2 separate regions of the Homo sapiens genome follow, and region 1 is linked to region 2. The links are contacts of gene promoters, found by promoter capture Hi-C in blood cells and fetal thymus (Javierre and others, 2016). All regions are on one chromosome and are shown on one strand. Each heading gives the region's core, a stretch centred on a gene start or on the middle of the fragment in contact. The rest is flanking DNA. Distances are from core to core; before and after follow the strand shown. Region 1 holds the start of ZNF782 (zinc finger protein 782). Region 2 holds the start of ZNF169 (zinc finger protein 169).

The links. Contacts are between HindIII fragments. The CHiCAGO score rates a contact against its expected background, and 5 or more counts as called.
Region 1: a fragment that was not itself captured here is called in contact with the fragment with the promoter of ZNF169 in region 2 in 2 of 17 cell types (fetal thymus and naive CD8 T cells); the score reaches 6.1 in fetal thymus.

Annotation. Positions count from the first base shown.
Region 1 is chr9:96,851,872-96,855,719 of GRCh38, forward strand. It overlaps ZNF782 (zinc finger protein 782), which reads right to left and starts at 2,643. Exons shown (of 6, transcript NM_001001662.3): 1 at 2,217-2,643; 2 at 982-1,198; 3 at 76-134. The coding sequence starts at 90. RefSeq lists silencers at 1,976-2,065, 2,346-2,415. The HindIII fragment of the contact is 2,179 bases long and covers 1,078-3,256 here.
Region 2 is chr9:94,256,911-94,260,770 of GRCh38, forward strand. ZNF169 (zinc finger protein 169) reads left to right here and starts at 2,388. Exons shown (of 5, transcript NM_194320.4): 1 at 2,388-2,435. LINC02603 (long intergenic non-protein coding RNA 2603) reads right to left here and starts at 2,401. Exons shown (of 3, transcript NR_160773.1): 1 at 2,201-2,401. RefSeq lists enhancers at 1,907-2,552, 2,391-2,710, 2,553-3,199, 2,741-2,870, 3,200-3,845. The HindIII fragment of the contact is 11,618 bases long and covers 1-3,860 here.

The DNA of each region.
Region 1 (3,848 bases), core at 917-3,416, 2.6 Mb after region 2:
CATTTAATGCAAGGGCCTATCTAAACCTCATAAAATCCATTACAATACAAAGTGGGGAATGAATAAAAAGCTTACCTGAAATGTGTTCATTTTCTGTGGCTCTTGGGAGAGTATAGAGAACTGTAAAGCCTCAGCTGGGGGGACAGAAAGAGGATGTCACACGGTCTCGCCTACCTCACAGCTCCTAGATTAGCCTCCCCAAATCTCAGCAACCCAGTTGGAGAGCAGCCTTCCTAAGGTAACAGGGCCCTTCAGGCCTTGAAAAGGCATGAGAAGCACCACGTAGAGGTGGCACTGTCTACGACAACTCTGAAATAATTATGGGGCTTAAACTGCTGTTTTTTATTGAGTGAACATAAACTTTTCCCAATTGATTTAACAATGCACATGTGCTTCTAACACACACACAAAAATAAAGACAATACAGGATTAGTTGAATTAAAGTACACCACAGGGTAAGACACTATTCTTTCATTAAAATTAACCTAGCAGGTACTGTGGTTCAAGCCTGTAACCCCAGCACTTCGGGAGGCCAAAGAGGGAGGACAGCTTGAGCTCAGGAGTTCAAGACCAACCTGGGCAACATGGCATGACCTTGTCTCTACAGAAAATAAAAACTTAAAAAATTAGCCAGGTGTGGTGGCATGCGCCTGTGGTCCCTGCTACTTGGGAGGCTGAGGCAGGAGGATCACTTGAGCCCAGGAGGTAGAGGCTGCAGTGAGCCATGTTTGTGCCACTGCACTCCTGCCTGGACAACAGGATGAGACTCTGTCTCCAAAACACAAAATTAACTTAGCAGAAAAATATTCAGTGTGCATCATTTAACTATTTTTCTTAGTAATATTATTTACCCTTGGTATAGACAATCCACAGAAAGTCTTATAAAAGAGATGAGATACTTTAAGGCAAAGAGTTTTAGATGTTTTAACTGGGATGTATTTCTCAAAAGGCCCTTTGGATAAGATGCTTTTGGTGACTCACCTGTGAAAGAATGAACGGAACTGTTTTCCTCCTGGCTCTACCACAAACGAGGGATCCCCGGAAACTCACTGAACCTTTCATGCCCAATGTCTTTAAAGCTTTCAAAAGAATCAGAAGTAGATAGCCACGGAAAACCCTTCATGTATCATCATGCATGGGATTCTATGAGGTAGGGACAAAGTCTCCAGTGTCACATATGTTAACAGCAGTATGGCATCTGTAAAGAGTGGAGAACAAAGCGACTGGGGGCTACTTTGGGATCTGGGGACAGAATCTCCGGTTACCCCTACCCTCAGACCTATGCAATGATGTGGCCTTTCCTGAGCAGCCTGTCCCTGGCCACCACCTAGCCCATTTTGCTCTTCTCAAAGCTGGCCCAAACCACCCACTGTCACCCATTGTGTGGTGGCTTCTGGAGGCTTCACCAAGTCTGGCTCATTCTGGGAAGGAGGATCAAGAACTGCTTCTGACCATACACATCTAGGATCTGCTCCTCTGTGGGCTCTTCTGCCTCTGCTCTGAAGCTCGGGAGGGAGGCCTAGGTCTGAGAGGTGTTCTCTTCCAGGTAAAACTGTTCACAGAGACCCCTGCTTCCCACCTCGCAAGGGCTGCTCTGTTCAAGGAGCCTGCGACCTGACCTGAGAAACCATGTTAGTGGCAAAAATCTGACTCTTAGAATTCTTTACATCAGACTTAAAAGAGAGACACCCTGACAATGCAGAAGGGGCCAGGAACCTGTCTGACCCAAGAGATCTGAAGACACACCAGAAATCCAGACTACATTTGACACATGGTAAGATTCCATCTACATCCACTCCCTGAGTATTTGGGGACATGACATTCTGCTAAGTGCTGTGAAGGCTGCAATGCTGGTTTTAGGCAGGTGTGATATTAGCGCCTGAAACGGGAAATAAATCACACCTGCCTTTGAACCCCAGCTCCCTCACTGCTAGCTTGTGACCTGAGCCTCAGTTATATTTAATGCAGATGTGGTTGTGAGGTATACATAGGCACCCAACGAATGGAACAAAGTGTCTTCTAAATATAACAGCAGCAGTCCGCTCATGGCTTAGTAGCCTACAGTCGGCTGTTTGCTTTACAGGTGGTGACTTAAAGTTTTAAACCAACGCCATGAAGCAGTCATTATTAATACCCTCACTTTCAGATGAGAAACCTGACTCTCATCCACGTCCCTACATTCGCCTCGGCTTCCAGTTGACAGAGATGGAACTTACCCGGGTTTTTCCAGCTCCAGAGCTCGGGGTCTCGATGCAGACCCACCGTCCGGGGATTTCGGGCACGTTGTCGCCCGCGTTACAAATGCGCTTTCCCCACCCCCGCCGCCGCTCGCGCCGGGCTCCGGTCCCGCACACCGCGGCCCGCACCCGGCACCTGCTCCGGACCAACGCTCAGCCTCAGCCGCCCCGGGAGCCAGCGGCCGAAGTCCCTCTCCAGCGGCCGGGAAGGCCGAGGGCCCGCCCGGTCGCATCCACTGACACAGGGGGCGGGGATCCCACAAACTTCCCGCTTCCTCTCCCGCTTCCGGGCACAAACGCTGTCCTCCCGCCCCAGCTGCGCCCCCTCTACTTTCCGAGCCGACCCCCGAGCTTCCCAAACCGCTTCCCGGGAGTCTCGAGAACCCAAATGAGGAGGCGGGGCTCTGGCTGCACAGGCGCAGAAGGAGCCCAGGAGCCCCATCCCAGAGTGCTGCGCGGCGAACCAGACTCATTCAGGACTACATTTCCCATAAGCTCTTGCGTCCGCCTTCGACGTGACTCCTCACGTTTCGGCGATTCAGAATTGGCGGGGATGGAGTTTTTATGAAGTCTCCCGCTCAGGCTCTCCAAGAACAGGGAGAAGTTAAAGGTTAAAACTTAAACGCTACTGACAAATACAAAGAGTAGCCCTCCATTGGTTCCCGGTTGAACCAACATTTTTTTTTTCCGTAAGACTTTCGGAGACAATTGGGAAGCTGAATATGGATTGGGAATTGCAAATATTGAAAAAAAGTACCATTACTTTTGTGAACTGTGAAAAAAAATTAAGAATTTTGTAGAAATTTTTTTTTTAAAAAAAGGGATCACTACTGAAGTATTTAGCATTGAAATGATATAACTTTGAATTTACTTTACAATTTTATACATTTTCAACCTGGAACCTCCACCTTGTCTCTTTACAGCCTACCCGACCCATTGACCTGTGAGCCCTGTCCTGGCGCCCCCAGGCGTGAGGGTTCTAAGGCGGGTCGAGCCCGGTGCTGCAGGTGTTAGAGAAAAGCTTTTGGTTTTTATCCCTTAACATTGCTTCTTGCCGAATTCTCTTATTGATTCAACATATTTAAATTTAATGTTAATTATCTTAGGTTTCCATGCGCATTAACGAATTTTCTTGCTTTTTGCTGATTGTTTTTTATTTCCGTAGGTTATTGGGGAACAGATGGTGTTTGGTTACATGAGTAAGTTCTTTAGTGGCGATTTGTGAGATTTTGGTGCACCCATCACCTGAGCAGTATACACTGCACCCCATTTGTAGTCTTTTATCCCTTGCCCCGCTGCCCTCCGCCATTCCCCGCCAAGTCCCCAAAGCCCATTGTGTTATTCTTATGCCTTTGCATTCTCATAGCTTAGCTCCCACTTATGAGTGAGAACTACGATGTTTGGTTTTTCCACTCCTGAGTTACTTCACTTAGAATAATAGTCTCCAATCTCATTCAGGTCGCTGCAAATGCCATTAATTCATTCCTTTTTATGGCTAAGTAGTATATCATCAGATACATACCACAGTTTCTTTATCCAGTTGTTGATTGATGGGTATTTGGGTTGGTTCCACGTTTTTGCAATCGCAAATTGTGCTGCTATAACCATGCA
Region 2 (3,860 bases), core at 1,138-3,637:
CTTTTAAATATTCTTGAGCTTTTTATCTGGGATGCAGTTAAGTTACTTGGGAACAATTCAGTCCTTTCTAGGCTTGGATTTAAGCTCTGTTAGGTGAGACCAGAGAAGCATTTAGGTTAATTTTTGCCCCACTATTGAGGCAAAACCCTTCCGAGTACATGACTTGATGCCATGTGAATTAGCATTTCCACTCTGTCTCGTGGGAACAGACATTATTCCTGTTCTTTTTGAGCTCACAGTATTGCCCTCTAACCCTTTCTAGTGTTTTTTACCCCTAATTTTGAGGAGTTTCCTCACATGTACATGCTGGTCAGCACTTAACTAATACCTGAGGAAGAGGACTCTCTGCACATCTCTGGCGCTCTCTCTCCCTTTCTGTACTCTGCCCTGTGAACTCTAGATGCATATGCCTCCTCAGATTCCCAGTTCCATCTCCTCAAGTTGAACTCCATGCTTCACTTGAGTTTCCCTTCTCTGTGCTATGACTTGGAAATTCTCTCCATCTGCGGGAAGTTCAAAGGCTCACCTCCATGATTTCCACTGCTCTTCATTGTCTGATGTCAAATGTCTTCAAATGTTTCATATATTTTGTCCTTTTAAATGTTGATTAAGGTGAAGGGCTAAATCTGGTTCCTGTTACTTCATTTTGAGAAGAAGCAAATAGGAAGTAACTTAAAAATACCACTTTTTATCAAATTCTTAGAAAAAGAGTATAACTCATTTTGCAAAGACTTTGGTATGTTTTTGAGCGTATTATTCTGTTACATCTAATAAACAATCTTTGCATTAGTAAGATAACTTTAATTGCTATAGTGTTAAATGTCCTCAAGTTTAGTTTTTCCTTATCTTCTTGTAATCAATTGGAATTAAAAAAAAAACTTCAGAATCTTCTTCTTTATAACAGGAAAAAAAACCCCAGTATTTTTGGCATTTTTAGAAGTACATTCATACACACTGTCATTTAAAACATGGGGGTGGGAGGTGGAGCAAGATGGTGGAATGGAAGGCTCCACTGATCATTCCCCCTTGTAAGAAAAACAAGTTAACAACTATTTACACACAAAAGCACCTTCACAAGAACCAAAAATCAGGTAAGCACTCGCAGTACCTGGTTTTTACTTCATATGACTGAAAGAGGCACTGAAAAGGTAGGAAAGACAGTCTTGAATCACCAATGCCCCTGACCCATCCCCCAGCAGTGGCTCTGTGGTGCGGAGAGAGAATCTATGTTCTTGGGAGACGGCAAGCACAGCAATGATGAGACATTGCATTGAACTCAGTGCTGCCCTGTTATACCAGAAAGCAAAACTGGATCAAACACAGCTGATTCTCACGCATGGAGGGAGTATTTACACCAGCCTTAGCCCGAGGAGAATCACCTATCCCAGCAGTTGGAATTTGAGTTACTGCCAATCTCACCACCTCTGGCTAGAGGGCCCTAAATAAACTCGAAAGGCAGCCTGGGCCACAAGGACGGCTCACGCCTGTAATCCCAGCACTTTGGGAGCCTGAAGTGGGAAAATTGCTTGAGGCCAGGAGTTCCAGACCAGCCTGGTCAACATAGCGAGACCCAGATTCTTTTTTTTTTTTTTCCCCCTTGAGAAGGAATCTCACTCTGTTGTCCAGGCTGGAGTACAGTGGTGCGATCTTGGCTCACTGCAACCTCCACCTCCCGAGTTCAAAGTGATTCTCCTGCCTCACCCTCCTGAGTAGCCGGGACTACAGGCGCCCATCACGACGCCCAGGTAATTTTTGTATTTTTAGTAGAGACGGGATTTTACCACATTGGCCAGGCTGCTCTCGAACTCCTGACCTCTGATCCGCCCGCCTCAGCCTCCCAAAGTGCTGGGATTACAGGCGTGAGCCACCGCGCCCGGCCGCGAGACCCAGATTCTAAAAAACAAAACAAAAAATTAGCCCGGTGTGGTGCTATGCACCTGTATTCCCAGCTACTCAGAAAGTTGAGGTGAGAGGATTGCTTGGCCAGGGGTTTGAGGCTGCAGTGAGCTATGATCACACCATTGTACTGCAGCCTGGCCGACAGAGCAAGACCCCTTCTCAAAAAATAAGTAAGTAGATAAAGTTCAGGGGTGTACAATCACAGGTGTGAATTTGCAGGATGGAGGACATGTAACATCTTTTTAAAAAAAAAAAAAATTAGAAGGACCGTATAAAAAGTTAAAGAAGACTTACTGCTCACCTGACCACCCTTCTCATAGACCCGAAAGTTAGATTTTACTTTCTGATTTTTCACAATTTCTCCTGGATGCTGCGGTCCCGCCCCTCGCAGCATTCTGGATGTTGTAGTCCCTCGCTCCAGGGCATCCACGGTAGGGTAGTTGCGCGCCCCGTGGCAGTCTGGGTAGTGTAGTTCCGTGCCCAGGGGCAGTCCGGCTCGCGTACTTCCGCGTTCCGGCATCGTCGCCTGGTGCGTGGTGAGTGTCCTTTCACAGTTCTGGTGAGCTAGCCCGGAGGTGGTCCCCGCTTTCGCGGGCCTTCCACTGGAAGGAAGGTCGGGAAAGCTGGCATGGGCAGTCCATGTCGTGGCCACATGTTCCTTGGTGTTTTGAGTTTCGGCTGTGGGGTCTGGGCGTGCGTGGTCCACCCCGGAGAGAGGTCTTGGCGGAGGTCCTCTGGTGGGGAGGGGGCGTTGGCGTTGTCGCGTGCTTCTGGCGGGACTTTGGGCCCAGTATGTTGACCTGGAGGGGCCAGTGCAGGCCTGGGACCGACTTCCCGAGCTACTTCGCAGGTGCGTCCCCGGTACTTCGGGGGCCGCTGAGTGGGCTCTGCCTGGGGTACCCAGACAGCATCCTGCCACTAGTATCCCGCCATCCCCTCCCCACCATCGCGCCTCGGAGGTCTCTGGGCCAGCAAATGTGCCTTTGGAGGACATGATATCCTCGGTTGGAGCAAACTTCCCCATTAGTGGGAGGCACGCGGCTTGGGCATCAGTCGGGTTGTTTATTTGTTTATTTATTAAATTTTATTTATTTATTTATTTATTTTTGAAACAGAGTCTCTCTCTGTCGCCCAGGCTGGAGTGCAGTGGCGCAATCTCGGTTCACTGCAATCTCCGCGCCCCACCCCAGCCGCCGGGTTCAAGCCATGCTCCCGCGTCAGCCTCCCGAGCAGCTGGGATTACAGGCACCCGCCACCACGCCCGGCTAATTTTTTGGTTTTTGTTTTGTTTTGTTTTTTTGAGACAGAGTTTCGCTCTTGTCGCCCAGGCTGGAGTGCAGTGGCGTGATTCCCCTGCCTCAGGCTCCCGAGTAGCTGGGACTACAGGCGCACGCCACCACGCCCGGCTAATATTTTGTGTTTTAGTAGAGACGGGGTTTCACCATGTTGGCAAGGCTGGTCTCGAACTCCTGACCTCAAGTAATCCCCCCGCCTCGGCCTCCCAAAGTACTGGGATTACAGGCGTGAGCCACCGTGCCCAACCTCAGTCCAGTTATTAGGGCTCTTGTGGATGGCTGGTGCACTGTGGTGGTGATGGTGCAGCTTGGCCACTAGGACCCGGGTTTGTGGGGGAGGATTGTTTGTGGGTAGACATCCAGACTTGGTCTTGATAGTGGGGGGGGGGACGGCTAGGGCCGTGCGACTCGGGTCAGTAGCCTTGGGGCCTGGGGACCCAAGTTGGTGAGTTGAGAAGGGCTTGCCTGGAGTTAGACATCCCTGGGTTGTGGGTTGCATGGGGGCGTGCTTGTATCCAGATTGTCGGCTTCTGCAGCTGTGTGGCTCCCTCGGACTTGGGGACCCTTCCGGGAGCATGGGTTGCAACAAGCAGAATGGTGCCCATAGGGCCAAGGAACATTTTTCTCAAGCCTCAGGGGGCTGTTGAGTGACTCCTTGAATTCCTG